3 separate regions of the Homo sapiens genome follow, and all the other regions are linked to region 1. Evidence: promoter capture Hi-C in human tissues and cell types (Jung and others, 2019). All regions are on one chromosome and are shown on one strand. Each heading gives the region's core, a stretch centred on a gene start or on the middle of the fragment in contact. The rest is flanking DNA. Distances are from core to core; before and after follow the strand shown.

The links. Contacts are between HindIII fragments. The study calls those that stand out against the background at their distance.
Region 2: the fragment with the promoter of EFS here is called in contact with the fragment with the promoter of IRF9 in region 1 in 1 of the 25 tissues and cell types used here (dorsolateral prefrontal cortex).
Region 3: a fragment that was not itself captured here is called in contact with the fragment with the promoter of IRF9 in region 1 in 1 of the 25 tissues and cell types used here (H1 embryonic stem cells).

The regions. Positions count from the first base shown.
Region 1 is chr14:24,160,015-24,164,438 of GRCh38, forward strand. It overlaps IRF9 (interferon regulatory factor 9), which reads left to right and starts at 1,251. Exons shown (of 9, transcript NM_006084.5): 1 at 1,251-1,324; 2 at 2,130-2,310; 3 at 2,952-3,135; 4 at 3,364-3,494; 5 at 3,864-3,945; 6 at 4,049-4,120. The coding sequence starts at 2,131. RNF31 (ring finger protein 31) reads left to right here. Exons shown (of 21, transcript NM_017999.5): 20 at 225-393; 21 at 506-641. The coding sequence ends at 559. RefSeq lists enhancers at 978-1,367, 2,357-2,416. The HindIII fragment of the contact is 9,939 bases long and covers 1-4,424 here.
Region 2 is chr14:23,362,523-23,366,946 of GRCh38, forward strand. It overlaps EFS (embryonal Fyn-associated substrate), which reads right to left and starts at 2,650. Exons shown (of 6, transcript NM_005864.4): 1 at 2,486-2,650. The coding sequence starts at 2,503. RefSeq lists enhancers at 747-1,247, 1,248-1,748. The HindIII fragment of the contact is 8,966 bases long and covers 1-4,424 here.
Region 3 is chr14:23,533,324-23,537,747 of GRCh38, forward strand. ZFHX2 (zinc finger homeobox 2) reads right to left here. Exons shown (of 10, transcript NM_033400.3): 2 at 1-2,051. The coding sequence starts at 2,002. It also overlaps a transcript of THTPA not described here. Among named protein-coding and RNA genes, the nearest start is that of ZFHX2, 16 kb to the right of the region's middle. RefSeq lists an enhancer at 4,093-4,424. The HindIII fragment of the contact is 6,986 bases long and covers 1-4,424 here.

The DNA.
Region 1 (4,424 bases), core at 1-2,500:
GGCATGCCCAGGCAGTAAAATGGGTCCTTGGGAGCAGTAGGTCTTGCAGTGGGTGGGAGGGAGGAGGCTTTCTGGGCAAGGGCATGGGTAGATAGTAGCAGGCAGTGTGGGCACAGGTGGGTTGTTAATCTTGTTCGTCCAGGTGTCTCAGAGTCCAGCTATGTTAGACACACTCAGTTAATATTAGCCAACACAACAAATATTCTGCTCCCTTTTCTCCCCAGGGCACACTACAAAGAGTATCTTGTGAGCCTCATCAATGCCCACTCGCTGGACCCAGCCACCTTGTATGAGGTGGAAGAGCTGGAGACGGCCACTGAGCGCTACCTGCACGTACGCCCCCAGCCTTTGGCTGGAGAGGATCCCCCTGCTTACCAGGCCCGCTTGTTACAGGTATAGCCTCCACCCAGCCTCATCTCTTAACCCACCCTACAGAAGTCACCTGGTGCTGACTGTGTCTGAGCTCCAGGCTTCCAATATCATTACCTTCTCTCTCCTTCTGCAGAAGCTGACAGAAGAGGTACCCTTGGGACAGAGTATCCCCCGCAGGCGGAAGTAGCTGAGGGCAAGGGTCCCGATGAGGGTCCCATGGCCTGCTCCCTCAGGAACAGCTCCAGCACCAATAAAGAGGCATCTTACCACCCAGGCTTCTTGGTGGTCCTTCTTCCTGGTGCCACCATCTAGGGGCACCAGGGAAAGAGCGGGGTGAACAGAGCTTTGCTGAAAAGGGCCCCCTGCAACCTAGTGCCTGACCCTCCCTGGACTCAGGACCAGGAAGGAGTTGACACCCTGGATGGTCAAGGGAGGCCCTCCCCATCCAGCAGCCTGGCCTGGGCTTCCTCCCTCCCTGCCTCCTTTTTTCCTTTCATAGAATTTGACTGGTATTTGAAGTCACCCAATATGTATCAGGTGGGCACTGTGGGGGAATGCAGATGCACAGGTGTACACAGCAGTCCAGAGGTCCCAGGCCTGACTCCAGGAAACTGGCCTCCCTGGGGAAGCCACGGTGTCACCCAGAGGTCAGATAGAAGCAAGAGTATCTGAGGGAGGCAGGGGAATGAGCCAGGCTGGAGCTGAGCCAGCAGGGCAGGGCCCCCCTGCTGCGACAGTGGCATCCTGATAGTGAGATGCTCAGATGCTGCTGCCCTCTAGTGGCCGCCAGTTCCCTGCAACTCAGACCACGTGATTTCTGGGAAAAGGCCCTCCCTGGAGGAGAACTGAAACTTAGGGTGGGGACTGTAGAAAGGGGCGGAGAGATCAGCCGCCCAGCCAGGAGTTAAGCTGAGGTCGTCTGAGCCCTGCGACAGCCTGGACAGCAACTCAGGTAAGATCAGCCAAGGATGGGAGTCAGCCTGGGATCTAGGGCTAGAAAGTCCAGCCAGATTGAGGGCAGGGGGTCCTAGGGGTCGCTCTGTTAGACTGAGGGATAGACAGAAGATCTCTTAAGTCAGGAAGTGGGAGATTCAGCCTGAGAGTGAGACTGACAAGGGCCAGCTCCCCAGACCCTTGTAGGCAAAGGTCAGGAGGACCTACTGCTGGATTGTTCAAGGAAGAAGGCTCCTGGCCCCAGCCTCAGTGGACCATTTGTTTCCTTGCCATCTGGCCCTGCCCACTTCTGCTGCAGCTCCAACCCCACCCCTACTTCCTGCCCCACCTACTCCTGGGGCCGGCAGGGGGTGGGGGTCAGGCTAGGTTGTGTAGGCTGTGGGGCGGTGGGTGAAGAGCCTGATGGATCTCAGCAGAACCTACCTCTGCTGATGCTCGGGAATCTAGACAGGGCCTGTCACCAGGAACGATCACCAAAGGAATTCTTTTGTAAACAATACATCTCTGAAAAGTCCTAAAATTAAGACCAGTGCCCAAGGTTTCCTTCCAGGTATCACAGCTTAGAGTGCTAAAAACAATGTTTTGGGGGGTTTTGTTGTTGTTGTTGTTGTTTGTCACTGCTAGTGATGGCAGAAAGGAAACAATTCTGTCCCATAGAGTGTTGAAATGTGTTTGGAGCTAAAAGAAGATGGATGGGATCTCTGGGACCTGTTGCCAGAATCTAGTCTCAATGGCCAGGGTCTCAGGAGATGTTCCCTCCCAAAGTGTCAGTTCTGATGCATCCTGCTCCTATTATCCCCCAGGATGGCATCAGGCAGGGCACGCTGCACCCGAAAACTCCGGAACTGGGTGGTGGAGCAAGTGGAGAGTGGGCAGTTTCCCGGAGTGTGCTGGGATGATACAGCTAAGACCATGTTCCGGATTCCCTGGAAACATGCAGGCAAGCAGGACTTCCGGGAGGACCAGGATGCTGCCTTCTTCAAGGTGAAAGGGCCTGGAAACCACTGTTCCTCTGTGTGTGGGATGGTGTATACACACTGGTACACTCATCCTCGAGCACTTGCGTCTGCCTGGGTTTCAGATAAGGGACAGATTGGAGAGGAAAACTAGCTGCATCATTTGCAGAGTCCAGTACAAAATGAAAATGTGGAGGCCTTGTTCAAAAATTTTAGGGATATTGGCCAGGCACGGTGGCTCACGCCTGTAATCCCAGCACTTCGGGAGGCCAAGGTGGGTGGATCACGAGGTCAAGAGATCAAGACCAGCCTGGCCAACATGGTGAAACCCTGTCTCTACTAAAAATACAAAACTTAGCTGGGCCTAGCGGTGCATGCCTGTAGTCCCAGCTACTCGGGAGACTGAGGCAGGAGAATCGCTTGAACCAGGGAGGTGGAGTTGTAGTGAGTCGAGATCGCACCACTGCACTCCAGCCTGGTGACAGAGTGAGACTCTGTCTCAAAAAAAAAAAAAAAAAATTTCCAAGGATTTCAAGATGGCAACGCAGAGCACAGACCCTGCATAATCCCTTCTGAGCTCAGAGCTGCACGCCTGTAAAGCCAGTCCTATTGGAGGGGCAGGTGGAGCCTGTAACACACTGCCTCTTCTTCCCTTGCTTTCTTTCCTAGGCCTGGGCAATATTTAAGGGAAAGTATAAGGAGGGGGACACAGGAGGTCCAGCTGTCTGGAAGACTCGCCTGCGCTGTGCACTCAACAAGAGTTCTGAATTTAAGGAGGTTCCTGAGAGGGGCCGCATGGATGTTGCTGAGCCCTACAAGGTGTATCAGTTGCTGCCACCAGGAATCGTCTCTGGTGAGTTTCCCCTTGTCCAACCACTGCTAGACTCAGCAGACTGGGGAGGAAGGATAGATGTGCAGGCTTCCCCCAGGCTTATAGCTCTGCCCTGTCCATGCCCTTGGGGGGCTGCAACCCAGGTTTCCCTTCCTAGACCTGCCCATCCTTCACTGCCTCAGACCTCTCCTTCACCCTCTGTCCTTGCTCAAGACCCTGACCTTTCTCTGTCCCTCAACAATTCCACAGGCCAGCCAGGGACTCAGAAAGTACCATCAAAGCGACAGCACAGTTCTGTGTCCTCTGAGAGGAAGGAGGAAGAGGATGCCATGCAGAACTGCACACTCAGTCCCTCTGTGCTCCAGGACTCCCTCAATAATGTAAGAGATGGAGAGGGAACTGGGTGGGCCTAAGGGCAGGACAGTAACCAGAGGGAGAGGTGGGCCAATGAAAGACACTGTGTCTTGGGAGGCCGAGGCTGGCAGATCACGTGAGGTCAGAAGTTCGAAACCAGCCTCGACCAACATGGTGAGAACCCGTCTCTACTAAAAATACAAAAATTAGCTGTGCGTTGTGGCATCTGCCTGTAATCCCAGCTACTCAGGAGGCCGAGGCAGGAGAATCGCTTGAACCGGGGGGCGGAGATAGCAGTGAGCCGAGATCGCGCCACTGCACTCCAGCCTGGGCAACAAGAGTGAAACTCTGTCTCAAAAAAAGAGAAAAAAAATAAAAAGACACTGTGTCCGCAGGAGGAGGAGGGGGCCAGTGGGGGAGCAGTCCATTCAGACATTGGGAGCAGCAGCAGCAGCAGCAGCCCTGAGCCACAGGAAGGTACCACCTGCCCTGCCTCTTGTGTCGTCCCCCATGCCACACCCTCTGGCCCAAGACTCCCCAGTCCCACTCTGAATGACCAGTGCCTTTGCTTCCCTTCCAGTTACAGACACAACTGAGGCCCCCTTTCAAGGGGATCAGAGGTCCCTGGAGTTTCTGCTTCCTCCAGAGCCAGGTACGTGGCATTTCTGACTTTCTCCTGTGCCCTGTGCCCCTGAGGTCTTCCACCTTTGACTATGCATGCATTATCTAGTCAGTCAGGGCTTACAGCAAACTGTACCCACATTACCATAGCCCTAGGCAGTGGTTTCTAGGTGGCGAGAATTCCATATGCCTGGCCAGACTCCAAAAAGCTTGCTTCCCAAAAATACCACCCTATACACTCTCCTGGAAATCTACATTGAGACATTGATTTCATTGGGCCAAACAGAGGCCCAATCTCAAGGGACCTTCTAGTAAACTACAAGCCCCTGGGCATT
Region 2 (4,424 bases), core at 1,400-3,899, 800 kb before region 1:
CTCATCAAACCATTTTCTGATTATATTTTGGTTTCTAAAGGATATTGTCCCACACAAAGAAACGTGCTAACCAGATGACACAAATTCCCGGTTAGTGCTGCACTTTTCTTTTTAGTTGTAAATTATAAATCAGTCTTTTGGATCTAGCCAGGGGATTAAAAGCACAGTTCTAGAGGCAGACCTGGGCTTGAGTCTTGGCTGTGTCTCTTTCTTTTAAAATTTTATTTAAAATATTTCTTTAGAGATCAGCTCTTGATCTGTGGTCCAGACTGGAGTGCAGTGGCACAATCATAACTCACTGTAACCTCGAATGCCTGGGTTCAGCCTCCTAAATACCTGGGATTACCGTTGCGACCCACTGCTTGGAGGTCTGTCCCTTTCTTTTTCTTTCTTTCTTTTTTTTTTTTTTGAGACGGAGTTTTGCTCTGTCGCCCAGGCTGGAGTGCAGTGGTGCGATCTCGGCTCACTGCAAGCTCCGCCTCCCGGGTTCACGCCATTCTCCTGCCTCAGCCTCCCGAGTAGCTGGGACTACAGGCGCCCACCACCACGCCCGGCTAATTTTTTGTATTTTTAGTAGAGGCGGGGTTTCACTGTGTTAGCCAGGATGGTTTTGATCTCCTGACCTCATGATCCGCCCGCCTCTGCCTCCCAAAGTGCTGGGATTACAGGTGTGAGCCACTGCGCCCAGCCAGGTCTGTCCCTTTCTAGCCAGGTTCCTTTGGGCAGATTGTTTAACCTTTCTGAGTCTCAATTTCCTTCTCTGTAGAATTCCATATGCGCATATCCATTTTCAGATAATAACAATACTACCTTCACAGGGTAGTTGTGAGAGTTGCATGAGATAACGCATAAAGAAACTATGACAAAGCGCAGCACAGGGCCAGGTGCAGTAAATGCTCAATAAATAATAGCTGTTATTAGAATCCTGTGAGTTTGATTAGCATAAATGCCCCTGACCCCAAAAAGAAAAATCTACATTCTTGGGACTACAAAGCTGACCAGCTGGCTTCTGAACCAGTATCTCTATGCCAGAGTACTCCCAGAGGTACTCTATCTCCAGAGGGCCTCCTTCCCCACTCTGAGCTAGGGTTTCCTGGCCATCGTTACAGATTGAGGAACTAAAAGGAATTTGGGGCCAGGTGCGGTGGCTCATGCCTGTAATCTCAGCACTTTGGGAGGCTGAGGCGGATGGATTGTTTGAGCCCAGGAGTTTGAGACCAGCCTGGGCAACATGGCGAAACCCTGCCTCTACAAAAAATACAAAAAGCTGATGTGGTGGTGCGTGCTTGTAGTCCCAGCTACTCAAGAGGCTGAGGTAGGTGGATCACCTGAGCCCAGGAGGTCGAGGCTGCATTGAGCCGTGATTGTGCCACTGCACTCCAGCCTGGGTGACAGGGTGAGACCTTGTCTCAAAAAAAAAAAAAAAATGGAGTTTGGTCTGAGAAAGAACCAAACTTGAACCTGTCCTCAAAGGGTATGGGAGGACATTGGGTGGCTCTGTGCTTCTCTTTCCAGTCTCTCTCCGAGAGTCCCCACTGAGAAGGGAACAGAAAGCAGGTGACGGCCTCGCTTCCCTGGGAATCTTAGGCAGGACCTAGAAGAGGGTGGAAAGGGAACAAAGCTGCCTGGATTCAGACTGCATAGACTGTAGAACAGAAAGCAGAGGTGGGGCTGTAGAGCGCTCCTCCCGGTGTTAGGACTGAGTTCTGTCCAATGGAGCCAAGCCTCTGGGCCCTGCCATTGCAGGACAGAGTTGTTGATGGACTGATTGATGATGGGTGTGACCACTCCTGCTCTATCCCCCAGCAGCCCAGCTGACTGGTGAGGGAATGGCCAGCCTAATGTAGGTGGCAGAGAGCCTCTGTGCTCTCTGGGAGGCCTCCTCCCACTGTCCCATCATGCCAGCTGTCTCCTCCCTTTGTCCCGATCCCTGGAAAGTGGCCTGAGGCTCTGGCTGACATCACCTCCCCTCCTCCCTCTGTCTTCTCTTTCTTGATCTCCCTCCTTTGCTCTATCTCCCTTTTTTCCTTATCCCTCGTCTCGAGATGGGCCTCCTGGGGTCGTTCAGCCTCTCGTTTTCCGTTTTCCGTGAGCCACTAGGTCCTTTCAGCCCCCTCCAAACCTTTTACTTGCCTCCCAACCACAAGCCTCTGCCAACCACCAGTGGCCATCTGTTCCCGCCCAAAAGGAGCAGATAGGACTCGGGCTACGCTTGCCCCTTCCCCTCCATTCAGGCGCAGCCTCTAGGAAGAAAAAGGAGAATGGGGAGGGGGCGGGGAAGAGGGGCGAGCCCGGAGCCAGGAGGAGCAGGGGATGAGGAGTGAGAGGGAGAAGGGAAACAAAAGTGAGAGGAGGGGGACACAGCCTCCTGGAGAAGAAAGGGACCAAGGAGAGAGACAAAGAGAGGGCAGAAATAAAGTGACAGGAGCGCAGGGCAGGCCGTGGAGGTCTCTCCCCGGCAGCCTCCACTCCCTGGTGGACTCACCGACGTGGCAATGGCCATGGCTTTGGCCTCCCGCGCAGCCTGCCTCAGGCCAGGCTCGGTTTTGCTGACTTCAGCGGTGGCTGCCCCGCACCATGGTCCGCGGCCTCTAGCCCCCAGCTGTGGCGCCTGAGTCGTGGCCTCCGCCAAGGTTGGAGGAGGAGAAAGAAAACCCACAAAACTTCCCAAATGAGAGGCAGGCTAGCCAGGCAGGAGGAGGAGCGGGGCGGGCCGGGGCGTCGCTGCGGGACGGCATCCAAGGGCGCGCGCTGCGTGCTGTCCCCGCGGCCTCCCGGGCGCCACCGGCTCGGCCAGGCCCCGGGAGCTGCCCGCCCTAGGCCGCGGGGGCGCCCCGGGCTCGCAGGATCCGAAAATTCCCTTCCCGGGCCGGGGCGGGTGAGCAGGCGGGCGCTGGGCTGCGCTCGACGCCTCTCCAGGCCGCTCAGGAGAGCCTCGAGGGCTGGGAGAAGCCGCCGGGGCGGTTGGGCTGGACGAGCGAGTTTAGGGGCCAACCGTCTCCACCCGCCGGCCGCGCTGCAGAGCGGTGCTCCCAGGGCTGGGGTCTGCGGCGACCCCGCTGGGAGGAAGGGAGAGCGAGAACTGAGACGCTTGCCCCAAGTTGCCTGGAGCCAAAGGCCCCCGAGAGCGTGGCCGTGGGGCTGGGTCGCTGGAGTGGCCGCTTCGGCCCAGACACTCGCACCCCCGGCGGTGCGGCGGTTTTCACGCGCGCACTCACTCAGCGCGCCCGGGGGTCTGAGGTCGCCGCTACGGCGCCTCGCCCCGGGCAGCAGCAACCAGCACGCAGGCACCCCTGGAACAGGCGGGACTGCCTTCCCGACGCGCGGCCTGCGCCCAGGCGGCGGAGGGGCCCAGCCCCCTTCCAGTCCTCGGCTCCAGGGCGCAGGGCCACGAGCTCCCGCTCCCACCCTCGGCCCCTGGCACCCGGCGCCGGCTCCGCCGCCCTCTCTCACACGCACCCTTGGCAGGGCCCCGCGGGGCGCCCCAAAGCTTGGGGGCAGCTCCCAGGTGTCTCTGGGAAGGGAAAGAAAGGCCACAAAGCAAAAGAAGGAGCAAAGAGAAGGCGAGGGAGGAGCAGGGGCCCGGGTCCTGTGGACTCGCCTGGGCTGGGAGTGGGGACACTGAGAGGGCTGCGAAGGCTCCGGGGGTCGCGCGTGGCCCGCAGGCTCACCCCTGGCCCGCGGCTGCCCTTCCCTCCCCTTCCTGGGCTCCTGGCCCCTCTCAGTGCTGTTCCTTTCTCCTCCCCTCAGGCCCTCTCCTCTCCCGCGCAGGGCTCCGTCCTGGGGATTAAGAGAAAGGAGGGAGGGGAAAGGGGAGGGGAAGGGAAGGGGCGGAGGAGAAAGAGGGACGATCCTTCCAAAGGCGGGTGTTGAGTTTCAGCTCAGGACCCTCGGGTCCAACTGCCTGTGGTACCCCCCACACCCCCCACCCCCGTCCCGCCCTGGCCCTGCCCCAGTCCCCGGCGCCTTCCTCCTCCGGACTCCGCTGCATGCCTCGCTTGCGGTGGTCCGATCGGCTTTCTCCGGGAGCTTTCCTCTCCCCGCCACGCCCCCGTCTCCCCGGCCGTCCCCGCGCCTCTCGGCCTCCCTTTCATTAGCCCCACATCTGTCTTTCCCATGGGAGGGAGCGCGCGCCTTCCGCCCAGCGGGGCCCTTAGCAGAGCCTCTCCAATCCTCGGCGCCTCCCCTACACAGGGTTCGCTGGGCCGTTCTTGCGGGGCACAGGAGGGGAGTCTGGCGCTGGACATGGATTCTGGCCCTAGTGACAACATGAAGCAGGGCGTCTGGCCCCAGAACTGCAGGCGGGCAGGTTGTGCGGCCTCTTACACTCCTCTGCCAGTCTGGGCCTGTCGGCCTCCTCAGCCTGGCTCACTCTTGCTGCTATGAGGAGAGGATTGGGCAGGACCGCTGGCACAAAAGTTGCT
Region 3 (4,424 bases), core at 864-3,363, 630 kb before region 1:
GGAAACCATTGAGAAGTAGCTGGGCTTCCAGGGGCTTGTCTGGCCTCAGCCCCGGGCCAGCCAAGGGAGTCTGAGGCTGCCCTAGGGCCTGGGGCCCAAAGTACTGGAAGAGTTCAGGGGGGCTAGTGGGGGTAGCCCCTGGTGGGGGAGGAGGGCCTGGCCCCATCAATCCAGGTGGCAGGCCCAGCGGCAGCCCCTGGTGCAGCATTAGGACATTCTGCATGTGCTTCTCAGAGGTCATATGGATGCGCAGGTTACGGGAGATGTTTGTCTCGTAGCTGCACACCTTGCACTGCCAGGATGATTTGGTCTTAGGCTCTTTGTCTCCCGCGGAGGGTGGGAGTGATGCCTCTGGTGGACTTCCCTGCCCACCAGGGCCCGCCTGGAAGCCCTGTAGGTTGGCCAGGTGCTTGTCAGACTGCATATGGATGCTGAGGTTGCCTTTGGTGGTTGTAGAGTAGTTGCAGACGTCACAGCGGTAGGGTTTGTAGCCACAGTTGTAGCTCTCTCCACGAGCAAGGCGGGGGTGGGCGCCCCCAGCACTGCAGTAGCTGCAGTGACTGTTGCTCTCAGGGTGCTTCTCTCGCATGTGCACATCCAGGGTCTGCTGGTACTTGTAGTGCCAGTTGCACTTGGGACACTTGAGTGTCTTGCAGGAGTTGCGTGAGTGGAGCAGGGACATGTGGCTGGACAGGCTGAGGCCCTGGAAGGCTGCAGGGGCTGGGGTGTAGTCATCAGCTAGGCGATAGGGCTGGGGTGGGTCACTGGGGTCTTCGGGGGAGCCCACTGGGGCAGGGAGAGTGCCCCCCTCCTTGGAGGTGGGTGAGCTTTGGTTGAGTGGGGGGCAGAGCCCTCCATCCTCTTCTTGCCCCTCAGGGAACCAATCTGGCCCTGCCTCGCCTGCTGCTACTGGCGATTCTTTGGCTTGGGTTGGGCTGGGGTCCCAGGTGGCTGTGGGTGGAGAGGGTGGGCTGAGGGCCATAACTTCTTCATCCAGGAGGATAAGGGCCTGGACTTCTGCCTCAGGGGGGCCATCCTCTGTCTGGGCCACATTCGCCTCCATGTTCACTGTGCTGCTGTTGTCAAGGGGTATGTCAGAAGAGGGGCGAGCAGGGAGTTTTGGCTCCAGAAAGCTTATGAGGGCCTTGCAGCCTTCATCTCCCTCCTGGAGTACAGCTGGGCTACCTGACAGGCCCTGATATTGGGCAGGGGTTAGCTTCACCCCATGAGACTGTGTGTGATCCATAAAGGCCTGGGGCTTGCTGAAACCCAGGCGGCACAGAAGGCAGAGCCAGAAGACCGCCACGTGGTTGCCCCCGCTGTTCCCCATGGGGCCATCTTTGGGATCTCCGGGTGGATTTGGAGCCAGCTGGTAGCTCCAGAAAGCTCCATGCCTTTCCTCACAGGCAGCCGGAGATGGTGCTGAGGTATCATGGGACAGAATTTGGTCAGAAGAGCTAAAGCCTTGGATTGGGTCAAAGCCATGTTGGATGTGAAGGGCAGTGAGGTGTGAGGGGGGTGGGTAGGCAAGGAAGGGCAGACTGGGCTCTTCCTTGATGCCCGCCTCACCCCAGGGGAAGCCCTTTGGTAACAGGAGTTCACTGCCACCTGGCAGGGACAGCTTGGCCACTAGGTAGGCCTCACCTCCAGCTGTGAAGAATAAGTGGTTGCTTAGGTCCATGGGAGGGAGCCCTTCTTCTTCCTCCTCCTGCTCCTTGTCCTTTTCCACCCCTGGGTCATTTGGTGGGAAGTGACCACAGTCAGGCCCTTCCTGGGGCTCCCCAATCTCCTTTGGTGGGACGAGGCCACAGCCCGACTCCAGGAGCTGTCCCCCTGGCTCTGAGGACCTCATGTTCTCAGAGGTGGAGGAGGCAGCAGGGGGATCTTTGGTGACAGGATCAGAGGGGGTGCTGGAGGAGAAGGTGTCCGAAGGCAGGGACGGGGCATTGTGCCCAGGGGAGGGGGTGGTACCAGTGGTAGAGGCTGAGTTAAGGGTGGCCATGGTAGACGGAGGAGTGCTGGGGGCTCATGTCAGCGTGACAGCCAGTACCCTGTAGGGAGACAAGGAGAGAGCAGTGCTGTGAGGCTGCAGGGACCCCAGCTGGGCAGCTGGATCTCTGGATACTCCTGCCCCATCCTCTTCCCTGAACACCAGACTCAGACACCACTTTGCTAACCTGAAATTTCACTTAGTGTCTAACATGCTTCAAAACTTAATATGTCCAACATCAGAACTCTTCATTTTATTTATTTTATTTTATTTTATTAATTAATTAATTTTTTTTTGAGATGGAGTTTTGCTCTTGTTGCCCAGGATGGAGTGCAATGGCGTGATCTCGGCTCACCGCAACCTCCACCTCCTGGGTTCAAGTGATTCTCCTGCCTCAGCCTCCTGAGTAGCTGGGATTACAGGCTTGTGCCACCACACCTGACTAATTTTGTATTTTTAGTAGAGACGGGGTTTCTCCGTGTTGGTCAGGCTGGTCTCTAACTCCCGACCTCAAGTGATCCGCCCACCTCGGCCTCCCAAAGTGCTAGGATTATAGGCGTGAGCCACCGCGCCCAGCCTAGAACTCTTTATTTGTCCCCTGAACCTGCTCCTCCCCATCTTTCCTATCTCCAAAGTTGGTACCAACATTTATCCAGTGGCTTAGACTAAAAACCCAAAGTTTTATCTTGCCCTCACCTACTGGACATATCCACTTCAACAGCAACTTCTAAAACATGTCAATCCCTCCATTTATCTCCTTCACTAACACCATCCTGGGGCCCGCTGAAATCCGGGCAGCACAGAAGGCAGGCCATTATCATCTCTTTCCTGGACTAACACAACAGATGCCACACTGGCCTCCCACTTCCACTACTGCCCGCTACAGTGTATTTTCTCTCCATCCAGCAGCCAGAATGGGGGCTTTAGTTTTTGCTCTATCTTTAGCACAGAAAACAATGCCTGCCACAGTCAGTGTCTTTTGAATGGCAGAATTCTAGGAAAGACCCTCAGATTTTCCATACCCTGACGAGGTAAATTCCCTAAGTCTTGCCAGAGATAGGGCATAATTGATTTCCCCTGGCATGCAGGCACCATGCTTCTCTCCAATGCCTTCCAGATCCATCTCTGGTCACAGCATGTGGAACAGATGGGAGCTTCTCTGGTCAGTTGAAAGATAACAGCTAGTCGGTTGCCTCCTCTTCCTCCCAAAAGAGGTAACAAATAATAAGTAATAGTAATAATATTACTAATAGTTATGTAGGTACATATACCATGGTCCTGGCACTATGTTAAATGCTTTATGTTAATCATCTCATTTAATCTCACAGCAACCTTATTTTATGGATGGGGCATCCAAGAAACAGAGATGTTAAGTGAGCTACTGAGGGTCACACAGCTCCAAGATAGTGAAACTAGAAATGGACTGATGAGGCACTGAGTAAACCCCAAAGTTGTGGTCTAGACTCCTCCACCCAGCTAGACTGTCCCTTGGACACAATACAGGTAAAATGAGACTCCAAAGGACTAGAAATGAGGATTCCAGTCTGGGCACGGTGGCTCACATCTGTAATCCCAGCACTTTGGGAGGCCGAGGCAGGCAGATCACCTGAGGTCAGGAGTTTGAGACTAGCCTGGCCAACATGGTGAAACCCTGTCTCTACTAAAAATACAAAGAAATTAGTTGGGCGTGGTGGTGCATGCCTGTAATCCCAGCTACTCAGGAGGCTGAGGCAGGAGAACAGCTTGAAACTGGGAGGCAGAGCTTGCAGTGAGCCGGGACTGCACCATCGGGACTGCACCATCGTACTTCAGCCTGGGCAACAAGAATGAAACTCCGTCTCACCAAAAAAACAGAAAGAAAGAAATGAGGATTCCTGGGCTGCCTCCAGCTGACAGAAGCGCCAAGGCTCCCATCCTTTTTTTTTTTTCTAAATCAGGAACCTCCCCCTCAAACTCACCAATTCCCATGCCTCTCCATCCTATACTTCCCCCAAGGTCCCAGTTGGCCCATCTACGTCCTCTCTAGCTCTCGTATTAGCAGATCTCTAGTGATTAAACTGGTAGTGCTTCAGGCCAGAGTGCTTCGTGTAAGGGGCGAGGGGCGTGGCCTCTCTTTTCCTGGGCTACCTCTAACCCTCACCTTCAGACTTTTTTATTTGGAATGGGTCCTCAGTCTGGCCCCACCCAACCTGAAGGCCCCATTGTAGCTTCCCTCCTCCTGGGGTTCTAGCCAGGCATGAAGTCAGAGCCATTAAGGAATGCTGAGTGGAGTGGGATTAGCATGGTAATGAAAATGCAAATCAGCACCTGGGAAAGGGGTGGAAGGGATGGGGAGGTCGGGGGAGTTGGAGAACCAAAAGGGAAGTGAAGGAACTGGACTGAGGGGAGCCGATTTCTCGATAACCAGAAAGCAGAAGCCCTCAAGTTGAGGGAG